2 separate regions of the Homo sapiens genome follow, and region 2 is linked to region 1. The links are contacts of gene promoters, found by promoter capture Hi-C in human tissues and cell types (Jung and others, 2019). All regions are on one chromosome and are shown on one strand. The core of a region is centred on a gene start or on the middle of the fragment in contact, and the rest is flanking DNA. Distances in the headings are between cores, read along the strand shown.

What was found. Contacts are between HindIII fragments. The study calls those that stand out against the background at their distance.
Region 2: a contact is called between the fragment with the promoter of CNOT6 here and the fragment with the promoter of RASGEF1C in region 1, in 1 of the 25 tissues and cell types used here (mesendoderm cells).

What each region holds. Positions count from the first base shown.
Region 1 is chr5:180,206,953-180,211,511 of GRCh38, reverse strand. It overlaps RASGEF1C (RasGEF domain family member 1C), which reads left to right and starts at 2,301. Exons shown (of 14, transcript NM_175062.4): 1 at 2,301-2,484. RefSeq lists a silencer at 2,166-2,385 and an enhancer at 3,510-4,302. The HindIII fragment of the contact is 4,624 bases long and covers 996-4,559 here.
Region 2 is chr5:180,491,738-180,496,296 of GRCh38, reverse strand. It overlaps CNOT6 (CCR4-NOT transcription complex subunit 6), which reads right to left and starts at 1,918. Exons shown (of 12, transcript NM_001370472.1): 1 at 1,534-1,918. RefSeq lists silencers at 1,149-1,408, 1,439-1,538, 1,709-1,848, 1,979-2,178. The HindIII fragment of the contact is 24,631 bases long and covers 1-4,559 here.

The DNA.
Region 1 (4,559 bases), core at 1,052-3,551:
TCATCCAAGCATCCCCTACCCTGCTCCCAGCAGGGCAATCATGCTTCAGTGGCCCCAGCCACTTGCTGGAGAAAGTTCTTTATCAGGGGACAGCAGCCTTTGCTCACAGAGCAAGGGTGAGCTGGGGAAAGACTGGCCTCACCACCCTGACCTGCACTTGGTTAGGAGGGCCGCTCAGTGCTGCCCAGACCCCAGAACAACACAGCTGAGTGGGTCAGCTCTTCTGAGGTGCCTCTTGCGGCCTCTCCTCCTAGACTCCTGGCTTCCTCCAGGCGACACCCTGGGACTGGACCTGAGGCTTAGGGGCATAGGGTGATAATCGGAGAAGATGCAGGGAGGGCCCAGTGCCTGCACCCTGAGGCGCATCTGTCTATCTGCTGGGAGCACACTGCTCACCCCTGACCAAGTGCCTGCCTCTGTTCCTCCTCCCTTTCCCCACACCTGACCCTTGGTCTCAGATGTCACCCTCCCTAGGGCCAGCCTCTGGCCCTGGCCCTGGCCCCAGCCCTGCTGTCTCCCTGCCTAGCTACCTGGCCCACATTCATTCTAATACATCTGTATGCCCTAGGCAGCTGCCTGCTCTCTCCAGGACTCAGTTTCCCTAACTGTTCAAGAAATGGGCTGGACTGTTGTTCTTAACCTGTCCATTCTTCCAGGAACAGCCTTCACGGAAGCTTGGAACAGCACCTTACTCCATCCTCAAAGCTGACACAGGACTAACTCTGCCTCAGCTCTAGTGAGACGACACCCAGGCCTGCTATTCCTGCTCCCTAGGTCTTTGGAAATGGCCTGAGCTCAGCTCCTCGGAGCCTGTGTGTGGCAGCCGCAGGCTGTCCTTGCAACTATCAGGCAGCTGTGCCCTCTCTGAGGTGTCAACCCAGGGCCATTCTGCCACAGAAAGACTGGGAGATAGGGGAGGCCAGTTTCTATGCACATAGGTTAAGTACCTGGATCTAGCCATTCCTCTAAGCAGTAAACCTTGGCTTTTTATGATCCACAAACCAGCTTTTTGCTCAAGCTGGTTGGGTTGAGTTTTGGGCCACATCTCATCAGGCAGGTCCTGACTAAAGCAGAGTGAGGTGAAGGCAGCTGGAACTTCCGTGTCGGGTGGGGACTTGGAGAACTTTTCTGGCTAGCTAGAGGATTGTAAATGCACCAATCAGCACTCTGTAAAAACGCACCAATCAGCACTCCGTGAAACGGACCAATCAGCAGGACATGGGTGGGGACAAATAAGGGAATAAAAGCTGCCCGCCCACCCCTCGCCAGCCAGCAACAGCGGCGACCGGCTGTGGTCTTTTTCCCTGCTGTGGAAGCTTTGTTCTCTTGCTCTTCACAAGACATTTTGCTGCTACGCACTCTTTGGGTCTGCACCACCTTTTTCTTTTCTTTTCTTTTTTTTTTTTTTTGAGATGGAGTCTTGCTCTGTCGCCCAGGCTACAGTGCAGTGGTGCAATCTCTGCTCACTGCAAGCTCCACCTCCCCGGGTTCACGCCCTTCTCCTGCCTCAGCCTCCCGAATAGCTGGGACCACAAGCGCCCACCACCAAACCTGGCTAATTTTTTTGTATTTTTAGTACAGACAGGGTTTCACCGTCGCACCACCTTTAAGAGCTGTAACACTCACTGCCAAGGTCCCTGGCTCATTCTTGAAGTCAGCCAGACCAGGAACCCAGCGGAAGGGACAAACTGCGGACACAGGAGGACAGGTGTCCTGACCTCTATGCTGGGACCAACCAGGGAACTTTTCACTGAAGACCCAGTTCAAGGAGGCCACTGGATCCTGTTAGAGCCCCTCTCCCTTTCTAAAAGTGAAATCATGCATCGCCATCCTCCCAGAACCCCGGTGTCTTCAAAGTGGTGTCCACCCTCCCTGGGGGCCACGGGAGAGCGCCGAGAAGGTTGGGGAGGGGGGGTGTCCACCCAGGGATGTCCCATTGGGGGACACAGACAACCTAGGTGGCCAGTCCAGAGAACCGGGCCGGGCCCAGTCTTGAGGAGAGAGGGTGAACTGGGTTTTGGGGCGCCAGAGGCCCACCAGGTGAGGTGTAGGCTGGGGCAGCTGGGGCGCAGAGTCCGCCAGGGTCCGCGCGCGGGAGGGCAGCGTCTGACGGCCCGAGCGGGTGGTCCTGGCGCGGGGGGCCAGCCGCCGCGGAGGCCTGAACGCAGGGCGGGACGCTTGGCTCCGCGGCCGGGGCACGGAGGGCCCTGGTGTGCAGCGCCGCCCGCGGGCTCCCGCAGCTCCACCCCCGCGCCCCGCCCGCTCCGCGCTGCCTGAGTGCCACGAGGGGGCGCAGCGCCGCGTTGCTCCGGGGCCGCCGCCAGGCGCTCGTGCGGGCTGCGCTGGGAGCCGGGCGGTCGGGCGGCGGCGGCGGCGGCGGCGGCGGCGGCGGCGGCGGCGGGCGGCGCCCCGGTCCGCGGCGCCGAGGCTCGCACCGGGAGCTGCCCATGGGCCGGGCCCGGAGTTCCGGCGCGCCGGGAGCCGGTGAGTGGTGCGCGGCCGAGGGACACCTGGCGGTGCGGGCAAGGGCGCGGGCTCGCGGGGGCTGGGGAGGGCTGCCGGCGGCGCGGCGGGGTCGGCGGGAGGCGGGAGGCTGCGCGCGGCGCGGGAGCGTGCGCCGGGGTCAGCAGGGGCGGGGTCCGCGCGGCCGCCGGGACTGGAGGCGCGGGGGTAGCGGGTAGGGTACCCTGAGGGCACACCCCCGGCCACCTGGCGGGAGACCCAGCTCTGCCGCGCGCCGCCAGCCCCTGCTGGGCGCGAGGAGCAAGCTTCTTTCAGCCGCTAGAGTGGCAGGAAGAGCCAGCCTAGACCAAAGCCTCCACCCGCACCGGACCTCAGTTTCCCCGTCTATGAAATGGGGACGGGAAAGCAGACCTGCCGGTGCACGTGCAGAAGGGAAAGGGCCTTGCGCCTGGGGGAAGAGGGTGCTGTCACCCTTGAGGATGGGATCGGATTTGAGGAAAGGACCAGCGCCACTATCAGAGGGCCTGCGAGAACAGTGGGGTCTGCTGGGAGTCCTGGGTGTGTCCCTCACGCAGTGACAGCGGACGGCATCAAGGGACCACCTGGTCCACTCATTGTATTTAGATTGGGAAAGCGATGCTTGGGGGGACTTGGGGAAGGGTGCTGGCGACGCCGCCCCATGCTCAGCGTGGGCGTGGGAAACTGTGGGAAAGACAGAGCTGGGAAGTTGGGGTGCTGGTGGAGCTCTTCCGGGCCCGTATCTCCTGCCTCCTGGGGCTGTGGGAGAGACAGAAGTTCTGAGCCCCGGGAGCCTGAGAAGAGTCCTGGGAAGCTCTGCCTGCCAGGCAGGTGGAGTAACTGAGGTTTAGAGAGGGGCGGGACCATGGAGTGGCAACGCTGGGGTCCCACCTCTGGTAAGACTGGCTCCAACAGCCATAGTGCAGCCACTGTGCAGGCGACCGGTGGAGGGGGGCTAGGGTTGTCCACTCACTGGCCACATTCATTGAGCGCCTACTGTGTGCCGCCTGCTGCCTGCCCCCGTAAGTGCTCACTAGCTGGTGTGGGAGGGGACACCAAACAAGAAATCAAAGGCAAAAGCAAGGACATGGCCAAGATCTTATGCGTGCTGGGAAGAACATGCAGTAGGGTGACTGGGGCAGAGGGAGACCAGGGCGCGGCGGAGCCTTCGTCTGGTCAGGGAGGCTGTCCTGAGCGGGGAGCCCAGCCTGTGATGGACGGGTAGCCCGGGGGAACAGCGCGGGTGAGATCCCTGAGGGCAGGAGGGGGCGGAGCTGGAGCTGAGACGCTACAGGGTCTGGACGTCCTGGGCAGCCCCCAGGCGGTTTGCAGGTTGGGCGTCGAAAGGCTGCCCGTGGCGGCGGGTGGGCGCACTGCCGGGGCAGGAGAGGGAGGGCAGGCGAGAGAGGGACGGGCTGCGGAGCCCAGGGCGGGACTGGCGAGGGGGAGCCCGCAGGCCACCAGGTAGAGGTGGGGCCCTGCCCGGGACCTGGCCCTTTTCAGGCCGGGGTCTGCACCCTCCTGCCATGTCCCCGCCAGTCTCTGAGGTGGTTCCAGCTCTCACTTGTACCTGGACCCAGATCCAGAGTCAGCCATTTGTCCAAGGGGCCTTGGTTCCTTGCGTGGGACCCGGGCTTAGTGTGGGGCGTGCACTCGCCGCCTCTAGGCCTTGTCAGTGGACCAAGCCAAGGCCCCTTTTTTACTAAAAATTAATATTTCCTTTCCCTTTCTCCTGCAGTGAGAACCTTATTCCCCCAAACATGAATATATTTCATCATTTACTTAGCTCCACAATGCACCCCGAAAGAGTTTCAGAATGACTGCATCCACACCGAAGCCAACCAAAACCTGCTAGGTCAGCATCGGGATTTCCACGGGTGTGCAGGCAGAGTGCTGTGTGGTGACGTTATCAGTCGGACACACTGTTAGCTTCGTGTGTTTCTACTTGCATTCAATTTGGAGCTTTTTTTCCTTTAGACTTTAGGATGTAATTTTATTTTTTGAATACGTAAAACACATGGTTTAAAGGTCAGAACTATTAAAAAGCTATCCTTAAAGGTCTCAGTCCCACCCCTGCA
Region 2 (4,559 bases), core at 669-3,168, 290 kb before region 1:
CAAAACACCTGGAGTAGATCACAGATCTAAAGATATTAAGCAATTTTTATTCTAAATTTTACTCTAAAAGTCATCACATTCTAAACACTGTGATGGCCAGGCATGTTGGCTCATGCCTGTAATTGCAGCACTTTGGGAGGCCAAGGAAGGAAGATCGCTTGAGCCCTGGAGTCGGAGACCAGCCTGGGCAACAGAGCAAGGCTCTACAAAAAATTAAAAAATTAGCCGTGGTGGTGTCTGCCGGTAGTCCCAGCTAGTCAGGAGGGTGAGGCAAAAGGATCGCTTGAACCCAGGAGGCGAAGGCTGCAGTGAGCCGAGAACTGTGCCACTGCACTCCAGCCTGGGTGACAGAGTGAGATCCTGTCTCAAAAACAATAAATAAATTAAATAAAGACTGTGATAAATGTCTTAACAGCAATTCCCCAAAAAAGCCTTTAAACCCTTTTGATCAATGGCCCACGTCCACTCCTACAGCCTACTAATCTGTTCTAGAGTAGTAAATTCTAGTATATTGTAAAAAATACAAAGTGCTACTACACACCATTTTATTTTTCAGTTATTCATATTCACTCTCTTCCTCTTCAAAGTTAAATTCCCAGATACAAGTAGGCAAGAAGATTCAGCACTAACAATGAGACAATCCACCTGGAAAACAGGTAAGTATGGGAACTCAAATTGAAGCAGATTATCTAAAACACATCAGCTTACACAGTAACAACAAATCCAAAGAGCTCGAGCGAGATGACCATTCACAACGCTGTCAATGGCAACAACAGTTAAAAACAGAAGGCCACAGGTGTTGGTTAGCAGGCTCTTCGGGGAAGGTGAAGGAGGTAAAGAATCAAAGGAAGTTTCCAAAGAAAATAGCGATTAGTGCTGAAAAACAAAAAGGAGGGATGCAATTTGGGTTACCAGAGAAAACTGCTTGTAGAAACCAGTACAATCTCCGAATCCTTCGCAATACTATAAAATAAGCATCCTCATTGCATGCCAAGTGCTTCTTTAACCTGTAATCCACCCCGTCCTCTCCCTCAAAATCTGCGTTAAACTGAATTTTAAAAACATTTTAGGGGAGGGGGTAAGCAGTTGGTTTCCCGCTTGACAGTAATTGTGGCCACGGAGCGCGAAGCTCCACACTCCACACAGCGCGCCACCCACAGAGGCGCTTCTCAAAAGTTGCCACCCATCTTGGCCACGAGTCCCGGGACACGGACTCGCCTCCTCCGACGACGGCAGCCGGGACCGGCCGGGATCCGGGAGCCCAGCGCCGACCCTCTCCCCTCTGCGCGCCGCCGCCGCCGCCGTCAATCAACGCCCCCCTCCCAGGGACTCGGCCCGGGGGCGCGGCCCGGGGCGGGGCGCGATCGCGGCGCGTCGAAGGGGCCCCCAACAGCCGCCAGCTTGCGGAGCAGCGGGACCGCCGCCCACGAAACGAAAGTTGCCCGCGACCGAGCCCGGCCGACGGGGGGCGGTCCGTGCGCGGCCGGAGAGAGGAGCGGCGCCCCGACCGGGCCTCCGGCCTGCCTCGCTCACCTCTCGGGGTGCGCCGCCTTCCTCCGCCGCTGCCGCCTCCTCCTCCCTGTGAGTGCAGCGGGGTCTGCCCTGTGGAACCACCATACCAGTCCCGCCCGCTGCTGCAGCGCCGCCACCGCCGCCGCTCCTCTGCCGCCTTAGTCGCTGCTCTTTGTTCCCCCTCCGAGAGCCACTGCTTCGGCTGCCCGCCTCAGCCGCCCCGACGGGCCGCCACTACGCCCTCCCGCCCTCTCGGCCCCCGGCCTCGCCCTCCTCGCTGCGCCCGCCGCTGCCTTCGCCTCCGCGCCGCCGTCGCCGCCGCCACCGACGCCGCCGCCTCCTCCTCCGCGCCCCCCTCGTTTTCATTGAAAGCAAACAAGCATCATGGCGGCGGCCGCCGTCCCTCAGCCAGCGAGCGCCCGGACCGCCGCCGGCGCTCCAACATCCTGGCCGCTCATTGGGCGCCGTCGCCGGGCACAACCATCCGCCCTTCGGTGCGGGGGTCGCTCCCGGCACGCAGCTGCCCAGGCCCCGCCCCCTTACCCCCGCGCTGGAGAGCGGTGGACCGGCCCGGCGCGCTGCGGGCCCTGCCTCCCTGCCTGCCGCCCTCCATCCCTTCCTCTCCGTCCATCCTTCGTCTCCTTCTGTTCCCGCTCTCCTCGCTCCTTTCCTGCCTTGGCACTTCTGTTTTCTCCTCTCCTTAGCGCTCCTCCATTTTTCATCTACTTCTTTTTCCGCCCCAGGTTGTCCACTTTTTTTTTGTTTTTTGAGACGGTGTCTTGCTCTTTCACCCAGGCCAGAGTGCAGTGGGGCGATCTTGGCTCACTGCAAGCTCCGCCTCCCGGGTTCACACCATTCTCCTGCCTCAGCCTCCCGAGTAGCTGGGACTACAGGCGCCCGCCACCGCGCCCGGCTCATTTTTTGTATTTTTAGTAGAGACGGGGTTTCACCGTGTTAGCCAGGATGGTCTCCATCTCCTGACCTCGTGATCCGCCCACCTCCGCCTCCCAAAGTGCTGGGATGGCAGGCGTGAGCCACCGCGCCCGGCTGGGTTGTCCACTTTTATCTCCTCTTTTCCTTGATCGTCCTCCCCTTTTTTTCTCCTCTTCCTTTTCCTTAAGCCTTCGCCTGTCAATCACGTCGAAACACAGTATTTGACCGGAGCCAGTATCTTGATCTGCCTAAAGACAAGACATTCAATCGTGAACAGTCGAATATTATTCCTTCCTCAATTATACAAAGAAGAGTAAGTTAACATACCACTTCAGCCTATTAATGGTAATTCATTCCATTACATTAATGGACAGTTTTGGTGCTGGGGTCCTAGCCTGGGTAACGGACAGCAGCTGCTGTGCTCCAAGATCAAAAGGTGTTCAGGGCAAACTCTGGTGTTTGAAGGTCAGCAGAGAAATGACTGGGCTGATTCATGATGCTTACATCAAGAAATATTAGTTGACTGATGGTCAGGGCACAGAGATGAATCAGACCCCACCCAGCCCTGAGTAAGCTCACAGTCTAGGGGCAAGAATAACACCCAACAGACTTAATATTGGAGGTATATTGGTCGGGCGCGGTGGCTCACGCCTGTAATCCCAGCACTTTGGGAGGCCGAGGGGGGCAGATCACCTGAGGTCCGGAGTTGGAAAACAGCCTGACCAACATGGCGAAACTTCGTCCCTACTAAAAGTACAAAAAATTAGCCAGGTCTGGTGGCTTGCACCTGTAATCCCAGCTACTCGGGAGGCTGAGGCAGGCAGGAGAATCATTTGAACCTGGGAGGCGGAGGTTGTAGTAAGCGGAGATCGCACCATTGCACTCAGGCCTGGGCAGCAAGAGCGAAACCCTGTCTCAAAAAAAAAAAAAAAATTTGAGCTATATGTTGAAGGCGTGAAGGAAAAGGAAAGCTGCCTGCCCACCTATGTGGCAAACTAGGATAGGCTGCTAACTGCTTCCTGGAAAATCAACCCTGAAGAAATGAGAGTGAGACAGGTTCCAGGAACTAACAGTAGCAACAAACCGAGGCTTCTGCTTCAGTGAAGGCTGTTGAGAGCTGGGGATGTGGGAAATGGGTTGCTGTTGCCTGGGGTGGAGGAGACCTGGCTGGAAGGGCAAGGAAAGGATGAGGGACAAAAGCTGTTCAGAGGTGAAGATGATCCCCCTCTCCCCAGCACGGCCTTGGGATGGTCATCGCTTGGCACTGCCATGACATCAGGAGTGACAGCCCAGGCCTCTAGCGCCATAGGACACTGGGCAAAGACAGAGCAGTGCAGAAGTTTAGGAGTCAGGAAGAACACATGTAGACCAGTAAGCTGCCTGTGGCCATCCCTCCACAACCTCCTCCTGTACAGCAGGGAGTTGTGCGGCCCTGTGCTGTACAGAGTATCCCAGGCTGAGGGGCCAATGGGACAGACACCCTGCAGGGCCTCTCCTCCCTGTGTGAGTGCCCTGGCCGTCTGTGCTCCAGCCTGGGTGCCTTTTTGTAATTTGGCCAGAGGCAGCTACCTCAGCCCGGTGCGGGGACTCAACGCCTGTAATCCCAGCACTTTGGGAGGCCGAGGCGGGCAGATGACTTGAGGCCAGGAGTTCGAGACCAGCCTGGCCAACATGGCAAAACCCCGTCTCTACTAAAAATACAAAAAAAAAAAAAAAAATTAGCTGGGTGCAGTGGCGGGCACCTGTAATCCCAGCTACTTAGGAGGCTGAGGCATGAGAATCGCTTGAATCCAGGAGGCAGAGGTTGCAGTGAGCTAAGGTTGCGCCATGGCACTCCAGCCTGGGCAACAGAGCAAGACTGTCTCAAAAAAAAAAAAAAAAAAACTCAAACAAAACAAAACAAAAAACAGAGGGAGCAATTCCCTTGTGACTGGCACGACTGTATGGAGGAGGGGAGGTCTTGTTGCACAAAATCTTGGTAGCATAAAGCAACAGTTTTACTGTATCTCATGATTCTGATGTTCACCCTTGGGGCCTCATGCCTATACCAAAGGTGGCAGCTGGGTGTTGAATGTCTGGCACCTCGCTGCCCCCTAACGAGGCCTCCCCCGCAG